2 separate regions of the Homo sapiens genome follow, and region 1 is linked to region 2. The links are contacts of gene promoters, found by promoter capture Hi-C in blood cells and fetal thymus (Javierre and others, 2016). All regions are on one chromosome and are shown on one strand. The core of a region is centred on a gene start or on the middle of the fragment in contact, and the rest is flanking DNA. Distances in the headings are between cores, read along the strand shown. Region 1 holds the start of TRPV5 (transient receptor potential cation channel subfamily V member 5). Region 2 holds the start of PIP (prolactin induced protein).

The links. Contacts are between HindIII fragments. The CHiCAGO score rates a contact against its expected background, and 5 or more counts as called.
Region 1: the fragment with the promoter of TRPV5 here is called in contact with the fragment with the promoter of PIP in region 2 in 10 of 17 cell types (total B cells, monocytes, activated CD4 T cells and 7 more); the score reaches 10.6 in total B cells.

The regions. Positions count from the first base shown.
Region 1 is chr7:142,931,180-142,935,723 of GRCh38, reverse strand. TRPV5 (transient receptor potential cation channel subfamily V member 5) reads left to right here and starts at 1,978. Exons shown (of 15, transcript NM_019841.7): 1 at 1,978-2,392. The coding sequence starts at 2,265. The HindIII fragment of the contact is 14,618 bases long and covers 1-2,371 here.
Region 2 is chr7:143,129,787-143,133,845 of GRCh38, reverse strand. PIP (prolactin induced protein) reads right to left here and starts at 1,769. Exons shown (of 4, transcript NM_002652.3): 1 at 1,635-1,769. The coding sequence starts at 1,729. The HindIII fragment of the contact is 4,172 bases long and covers 1-3,985 here.

The DNA of each region.
Region 1 (4,544 bases), core at 729-3,228, 200 kb after region 2:
TCACACCTTTACAGCCAAAAGATTCCCAAGAAGCAACAAGGTCTGGAGAGTGGTTTGGAGCTGAGATCCCAAGTTCATGGCCAGTTACAGTCTCGCCACTAGCCATGGGACTTGGGGCCAGCACACCCAAGAATTCTCACAGACGGAATTCTTCCTTGTTCTCATTTACCTGATAGGTCTATTGAGTGAATGCAATTCAATAATATTGATGTACCTCTTTGAAAACAATGAGAACAGAATTGAACAATGAGAACACTTGGACACAGGAAGGGGAACATCACACACCAGGACCTGTCGTGGGGTTGGGGGAGGGGGGAGGGATACATTAGGAGATATACCTAATGTAAATGACAGTTAATGGGTGCAGCACACCAACATGGCACATGTATACATATGTAACAAACCTGCATATTGTGCACATGTACCCTAGAACTTAAAGTATAATAATAAAAAAAATGAGAACATAAATACAAGCTATCATATACAGTAGTCACCTTTTATCCTCAGGGGATACATTCCAAGACGCCCCAGTGGATGCCAGGAACCTTAGATAGCACCAAACCCTGTATATACTATCTTTTTTCCTACACGTACATACATACATACATACATACATACATACATACATACATACATACATATGATGAAGTTTAATTTATACATTAGGCACAGTGAAGAGTTTAGGCCGGGCATAGTGACTCACGCCTGTAATCCCAGCACTTCAGGAGGCCGAGGCAAGCAGATCACCTGAGGTCAGGAGTTCGAGACTAGCCTGGCCAACATGGTAAAACCCTGTCTCTACTAAAAATACAAAAATTAGCCAGGCGTGGTGGTGGGCACCTGTAATCCCAGCTACTAGGGAGGCTGCGGCAGGAGAATAACTTGAACCTGGAAGGTGGATGTTGCAGTGAGCCAAGATCACACCATTGCTCTCCAGCCTGGGCAACGAAAGTGAAACTCTGTCTCAAAAAAAAAAAAAAAAGAGTTTAACAACAATAAAATGAAAATTATAATAATATAAAGTTATGTGAATGTTCTCTTTCTCTCTGTCTCTCAAAATATGTTATAGTACTGTACTCACCTATTTTCCAACTGTGGCTGACCTTAGGTAACTGAACCATCAGAGAGTGAAACTGTGGATAAGGGAAACTACTTAATATATAAAATATAATATAAAATATATAAAATAGTGCAACATTACTTATTCCTCCTGGTGTTTCATTCCTGGAAAGAGTCCCAAACATGGAATCACGATTTATTTGTCGTCTACCTTTGCTCAGTTTCTGCTGTTCAACCTCCATAATAACTCGAGGCCCCTGGGGGCTCCTCTGACCTGCGTCCCCAGGTACCAGAGCCTGCTCGGCGACGCTCCAGGAAGCTGGCCGGTCACGGTCATGAGGACTTCTCACAGAGAGGGATTGGCCTGGGAAGTGGGGGTCAGAAACCCTCCTTTGAGGTACAGGGTTGAGGACAGAGATGACCACAAGACACATAAATGGGAAGCTCTGAGAAGCAGCCCGGGGGTCTCTTGAGCCCTCTTGTGGAAGGAGGATCGGCAGTGATTGAGTACTTGTGACACATGCTTTACAGATGCTCCCGTGAGACGGCATAGCCGTTACCCCAATTTCACAGGTTAGGAACTGAGGCTCAGAAAGCTCACCTAACTGTAAGGGATAAGAGTCAGGATTTGAACCAGGCTCTGCCTGACTCTTGAGCTGGAAGTCTTTATTTCCTCCTCTCCCTCATGCAACTAACTGTGCACCTTGTTTGTGGACCCACCTTCCATCCCTTTTCTTTTTCCAAATTCCTCTGCCCCACCTCTTAGCTTCTCGGGTCTCAGCCATCCCAGCCCACAGTTAGGAACCTTCCTTCCCCTCCTCCTTTTCTTCCCCAGGGTGGTTCTGTGGCTGTGGGGCTCAGCTCTGCAAAGAGCTCCTCCCCCTCCAGGAAAAGCACTTCTCCCCAGGCAGGGCGGTCAGTCCCCTCAGCGCACCTGCATGCACACACACCACCTCACAACCACACACTGCATGCACACACATACACCACAGCCACACACTGTGCATACACGCACACCCCACAACCCACATACTGCATGCACACACACACACCTACAAGCTGCATGCTGCATACACAAGTCATACAGGAGATAAACTCAGAGTCCCAGCCCCAAATAGACCCCATCTCTTGCTCAGTTGCTGTCATCCTAGACCTGTTTCTTTCGCCACATTTCTATAATCTGCCAGTGTCTGCAAGGAGAAGACATGGGGGGTTTTCTACCTAAGGCAGAAGGGCCCGGGAGCCAACTCCAGAAACTTCTGCCCTCCTTTCTGGTCAGAGAACAAGACTGGGACCAGCACCTGGACAAGCTTCATATGCTGCAGCAGAAGAGGTAGGCTTCCTAGAACGATCCGTGGCCCTACCGCCGTGATCCTCAGACCCTCTGACCCACCTGGGCCTGCTTTCCGAATACAGCACCCTAGAAGTGTATTGTCAGTGCCAGTCACTCAGACATACCCTTTCCTTCCAGCCCACCTAATTACAGAATCCCAGCTGGCCCCTTTTAGTGGCGGTGGAGGATGTGGCTTTGGGCCACACAGGAAAATCTTGAGGGTAGACCTAAGGACAGAGGCAGAATGACAGCCAAGGGGGAGTGAAAGGACCAAAAAGGACCAGAGGGAAGAAGCCAGGTTGTGTGGGATGGGGAGGGAAGGCAGAAGCAGGCTGCTGAAGAAGGGATGCACTCCTGTGGGTGGTGGAAGCACGATAAGGAAACGCCATTCATTTGAATGAAAGTGGACTGTGTGGGAAAGGGGAGGAGCGCTTTGTTTGGTGTAACACTGGGTGCTGACCAGTGGAGGAGGGCAGCTCAGGTGACACTGGAGGGCTCTGAGTTCAGTCCATCTGCCTTTTATTGAGTCTACTGTGTGCAGAGGGGTGTTAGATCCCAATGACATAAAGATTGAATGAGACTTGTGCCTGCTCCTGGAGAGCTCTTAGTTCGGGCAGGGCTAGCACACCTGCAGGTAAATCATTTCATGGCTTAGCCCTGAGGTCCAGTCCCAGGAAGAGCAGCTGGGGCAGGGACGAATCCTGTGGGCTGCTTCTTCCTCCAAGTGTTTTGGGGCTTGCCTCCCACCCAACAGCTGCCTGAGGGGTGAGGTTGTTGAGCAGACATTAGCAGTCACAAAGGGCTCCCCTGTACTCCAGAAGATTCCTGTGCTTTGTTCAATGCCCTGCTGTCCTCATCTTCAAGTTCTTAATAATTTTGAACAAGGGGTCCTGCATTTGCAGTTTACACTGGGCCTGGTCCCAAGTACCTCTGAGCCCTCATACTGTCAAGCCCTCTGCTTCCTCATCTCCCCACCCAATACCTCCAGTGGAATCTCACCTTCCTGCTTTAGAGTGGGACCCCTGGGTCTCTGAGAAAGTGAGCTTCCAGCCCCAACTTGGACCCTCTGCAGAGGGGCAGTGGGGATAGAGGGCCAGGGAGGCAAGGACTTTGTTTGTGCAGTGGCCTCAGGATGGGGGTGAATTTGCAATCTCAGCCCTGACCACTCTAGGCTGGTCAGGGACACCAGGCTCCCTGGGACTGATTCCCTGGGTGAGACGGGGCAGGGAACTGACTCCTCACAAAGGCCCCTCCTAGGAGCACTGCCTTAACAGGTAAAACCAGGCCCCACCTTTAGATTAAAAGCTTCTTCTTTAAATGAAAACACTTTGGCTGGGCGTGGTGGCTCACACCTGTAATCCCAGCACTTTGGGAGGCCGAGATGGGTGGATCACCTGAGGTCAGGAGTTCGAGAGCAGCCTGGCCAACATGCTGAAACCCCGTCTCTACCAAAAATAAAAAAACTAGTCAGGCATGGTGGTGGGCACCTGTAGTCCCAGCTACTCGGGAGGCTGAGGCAGGAGAATCACTTGAACCCAGGAGGCGGAAGTTGCAGTGAGCCGAGATCGCACCACTGCACTCCAGTCTGGGCAATAGAGTGAGACTTCGTCTCAAAAAAAATAAATAAATAAAATAAAAACACTTTTTCGCCCTGGCTCCTGGGGCTATTGGAAGAGAGGGATTTGGAGGTGGGGACCTCAGAGGAGCCACTCATCGGCCTGTCCTTTCTGTTCTTCCCCCTACACCATGTGCTTGCCTTTGGGGCCAATACACATATGTCTAGTTGGAGAGGCTCCAGCTTTATCTCTTTCTGGGTTCAAATCTGGGTATGGTAGAAGCAAAGATTAACAGAGGTCCTGTAGAATGAGTATCTCAACCTGTTTTGCCTTGAGACACCCACATAAACAAGCTGTTTAGACCTTTGCATCTAAGGGTATAATGCAGAAGAAAGAGGCACCCTGTAACTCACCCCACAACTCTCCACCCCCTGCAGGGACCTGTATCTAAATAACCTGAGGATGCTGGGCGCAATGTAATCCCAGCACTTTGGGAGGCCAAGGCAGGCGGATTGCCTGAGCTCAGGAGTTCGAGATCAGCCTGGCCAACATGGCAAAACCCCATCTCTACTAAAAATACAAAAAATTAGCTGGGC
Region 2 (4,059 bases), core at 520-3,019:
AACTTATGGAAAAATAAAATAAAATAATAAAAAATTTTAAAAACCCAGCAAACATCTCAATGCACTGGAGGTATTTGTAGGAGCATCTTTGAAGATCCTCCTTCTGTGGTCCCCAGGTAGGGTTTAGGAATTTGTATTTATTTAGCTCCTTAGGAAATTTGGACATATGGCCATGTTTGGGAACTTTAGATACTACTCTACATTTAGACCATACACTGCAATCTGAAAAGGAAAGGAAATGGAGACAAATAAAATGGTCAAATGTTCTTCTTCAGTCAATGAGGACTGGGTTCGGGGCCAGGAGAGTTATTTTCTCGTCCCTAGAAACTCCCGGCTACGGACCTTTGTTATTGTGTGGGACAGAAGGGAATTGAGATTCTTAGCCCACAGTGTCTCACAGCCCCATTTTCTTGGGGCAAAGCATCTTAGAGAGATTCTATTTTTTGGTGCCAACTGCTGTAGTGCCCAGTGCACAGGAAAAGGGTATAAATACCTAAGCAACTTCAAAATCTCTCCCATTTGTATATGAGTTTCAGATTGATAGGATGACCAGCTTAGTTCGAGTGACTAACCATCTCAGTTTACCCAGGACTGAGGTCTTTTCCAGAATGGGTTGTGGAGGTGGCGGGGGAGGGCAGAGTTGCAGTGCTACAACCAGGAAAGTTCTGGGCAAATCAGGATGGATGGTTGATAACCTAATTAGCATAGCTTATTTGAATACCTTGCTGCCCTTCAGGGCTAAGTGGACTGTCATCTGGCGGGAATGGGGTGGGATCTGAACCTGTCCCCATGCAGGGTTTCTTGGGACACTTGCCTCCATTACATTAGCTTGTCAAAACCCTGAACAGTTTCCTCCAGGACAGGATATCTGACCATGCCATAGAGAGTACCTCCAAGATCACAACCCAGAAACCCAGCATTATAAACCCTACTGCTATAGAGAAAACTCCCTAGATTGGGTATCGCTGCTTTCTCCCAGACCCTTGGCTCCATTTTCTACTTTATTTTACTTGCTCCAATTTTTCTGCTTCCTTCACACATGTGTTCTCAATAAGTTGACTTCTGAACCTGTGCTCTCAGGTCCCAGTATACGTGAGAGCAAGAGGTCATCATATTCATCTTCAGACTTCAGGTTAGGAAGAATGTCTAAGCTGCCAGTCTAGCTCAATCTCAGACCACAGGGCAGTGGCCAGGGCCTCTGGTCCTTTAGCCAGTCCTGCCAAAGCTGCCCTAAGCTGCCATTGGAATTCACAGACCTGTTATGCTTCTCTTCTAGGAGGCAAGGTGTGAGAAGGTAAAGTTTACTGAGCAGAAATCTGAACAAAGGTATAAATTATGAACAAGATGTGGATCAGCATGTTAGATGAAGACTAACTACTAATTACAGCCTGTAGGTACATTTGGAGCTTTATTTCCACTGGCAATGCAGAAACACCCAGCAAAAATGTGAGAGGAGTTGGTGGGGCTTCCTAAGAGGACAAGAAGTGGAACCTGGCAGGAGATCCATGGGAGCTCCTGGGACTAGAGTTCTGGGAAGTTGAAAGAAATTCTCAGAAAGAGATATGTAATTTCCAGACTGGGAGAGGAGCCCTCCCTGCAATTTTTTTTGTGGGGAGGAGAAGGGCATGGCTCACGTGTTGTCCTGAGCTTTGTTGGCCCCCAACTGCAGGCAGAGAACCAGGAGCAGGGTGGCAGGGCTGGCCCTGAACAGGAGCTGGAGCAAGCGCATGCTGGAGAAAACAGAAGGCAATGTGTCCCAGAGAAGTGGTGTCCCAGGTGCCCAGCACATTTCTTATATACAGATTGATCAAGGAAGTGCAAGAGCTGCCAGGGAGATCCATGAGGTGAATCACCCATTCACCCTCCCCACTCGTGATCTTTCCTTGTTGACCCAAAGTTTGTTTTTCTAAGAAAAAATCAACACTCAGCTAGAATGTCAGCGTTTGAGAGAGGAGTCAGATTGTTCTTCCTTATTTTTTCAGCATCAGAGTTTCTCAAAATGGCTGGGACCTCAAAAGATACACCAGTTTTTCCCGAGTTTACAGATTCAGTTTTCTTTTCCCTCCTAATTTGCCTGTCTGAAGTGCTATGTGTAGTCTTAGCTTCAGTCACTGCTCCCCTGGTCTCTGAAAGCAGAGAACACAGCTGTGGTGGCAGGTTTCAGACCAGAGACATAGAACATCTTTGCTTGATCAAATTATAGTGAGTTCAAGATGCAATGCTATTCAAAACATTTCTTGGAGGGCTAGGATGATCAGGACTTCCCTAGCAGTCACTACCCATCATGAGGTGGAAGAGCTAGAGAAGACCTGAGCTGCTCTACATGATGGGGAAGTGAGTTCAAGACACTGGGTGATGTAAAGATGTTTATTGTCATTGAGTCCTTCTTAATTTCAGGTGTGGTTGCAATATACTGCAGATGTCCAAGATCCCCAGCTGCCCCACAATCCCCAAGGCAGGGTGATATTTTAATTCTAGACAATTCCTATAAATAGCTGGCACCCCCAAATCAGACTTCTTGGCACCAAAGAGCTGGCTTATTTTCTTATTGACATGGCCACTTTCTTACACTTGTCTCATGCGTAAGCCACACAGGAAGAACCACAGTGGAAAGGATTCCTTCTGTGAGAATGGAGCCCACATTATGTCCAGTAGATACCCAGGTTGTAGAATTCCTCTCCTTGGGATGATGGGGAGACTTGCTCTTGCTGACACTGGCATTGTGTTATTTCTCCTTATGAAATTAAATCTGCTCCTTAACCTATGACTTACAATACTATGGGATTTGTTTCTATCATTTGCATGGCACACAGCTGCCCAGGAAGAGCCTCTCTGGCAACAGAGTGAAAATCAGAGTTCTAGGAGTTACCGCCTCTGTATGTTGCTTTAGCCAGGATTCAGAGCTAAAGTGTAAGTGTGTGCTTCTGCTTTCTGGATGTATCTCTCAAAATTGCTCTGTCTGTTTATTCAGCTCCTGGATCTACCTTCTCTTTTCTTTGAATTGGACACCATTCATGTCATTGCTCACTCAGAACTTCAGCTGTTCTCATGATCACATGCTTTCTTCCCTGTTTATGTCCTATCCACTCAAGAACACTGCTTGTGAGGGTCACAATGACCTTCCTTTGTAAGCCTTTTCCCACAATTAAATTGTCTTTACACCTGGTCCTTCTCACTTGCATAATTTCCATTTGAAGCACATCCTAGCTACACTGACCAAGGCAGGCATAAGGCAGAAGAATCTAGGAAGTGTCTGTGTGGGAAAATGCAGGAAAAGTTCTTTGCTTGGCTCTTTGAAGGCATAGCCCTGTCCTTGAGGATGCAACTCCAGCACTCCCAAAAGGCAGTGTCCAGAGGAAGGCAGATGACGATGGGTTAAGAGCATCTATTGAAGGTAATGAGGCTGTTCTTCTGTGAGCTAGCAGGAAACTGCAATACCTACAATGTACAGGACAATCTTTTTTTTTTGAGACAGAATCTCACTCATCCAGGCTGGAGTGCAGTGGCATGATCTCAGCTCACTGCAGCCTCCACCTCCCGGGTTCAGGAAATTCTCATGCCTCAGCCACCCGAGTAGTGGGGATTATAGGCAGGTGCCACCATACCCGGCTAATTTTTGTATTTTTGGTAGAGATGGGGTTTCACCATGTTGGCCAAGCTGATCTTACATTCCTGACCTCAAGTGATCCACCTGCCTCGGCCTCCCAAATTGCTGGGATTACAGGTGTGAGCCACTGTGCCTGGCCTAGGACAAGTCTTATTCAGGCCATGACTGCTGTGATGGTTACTTTTATTTGTTAGCTTAGCTAGGCATGGTGCCCACTTTTTGGAAAAACAACAGTTTAGAAGTTGCTGTGAAGTTGTTGTTTGTTTGTTTGTTTTAAATGTGATTAACATTTAAATCAGTAAAATTTGAGTAAAACAGATTACCTCCATAATATGGGTCAGACTCATTGGATCAGTTGAAAGTCTTAAGAGAAAAGCTTGAGGTCCCTTGAGGAAGAAGATTAGGGAGAAAAAGAAACCATAATTATTATGCCATAAAGAATGAACAAGTCT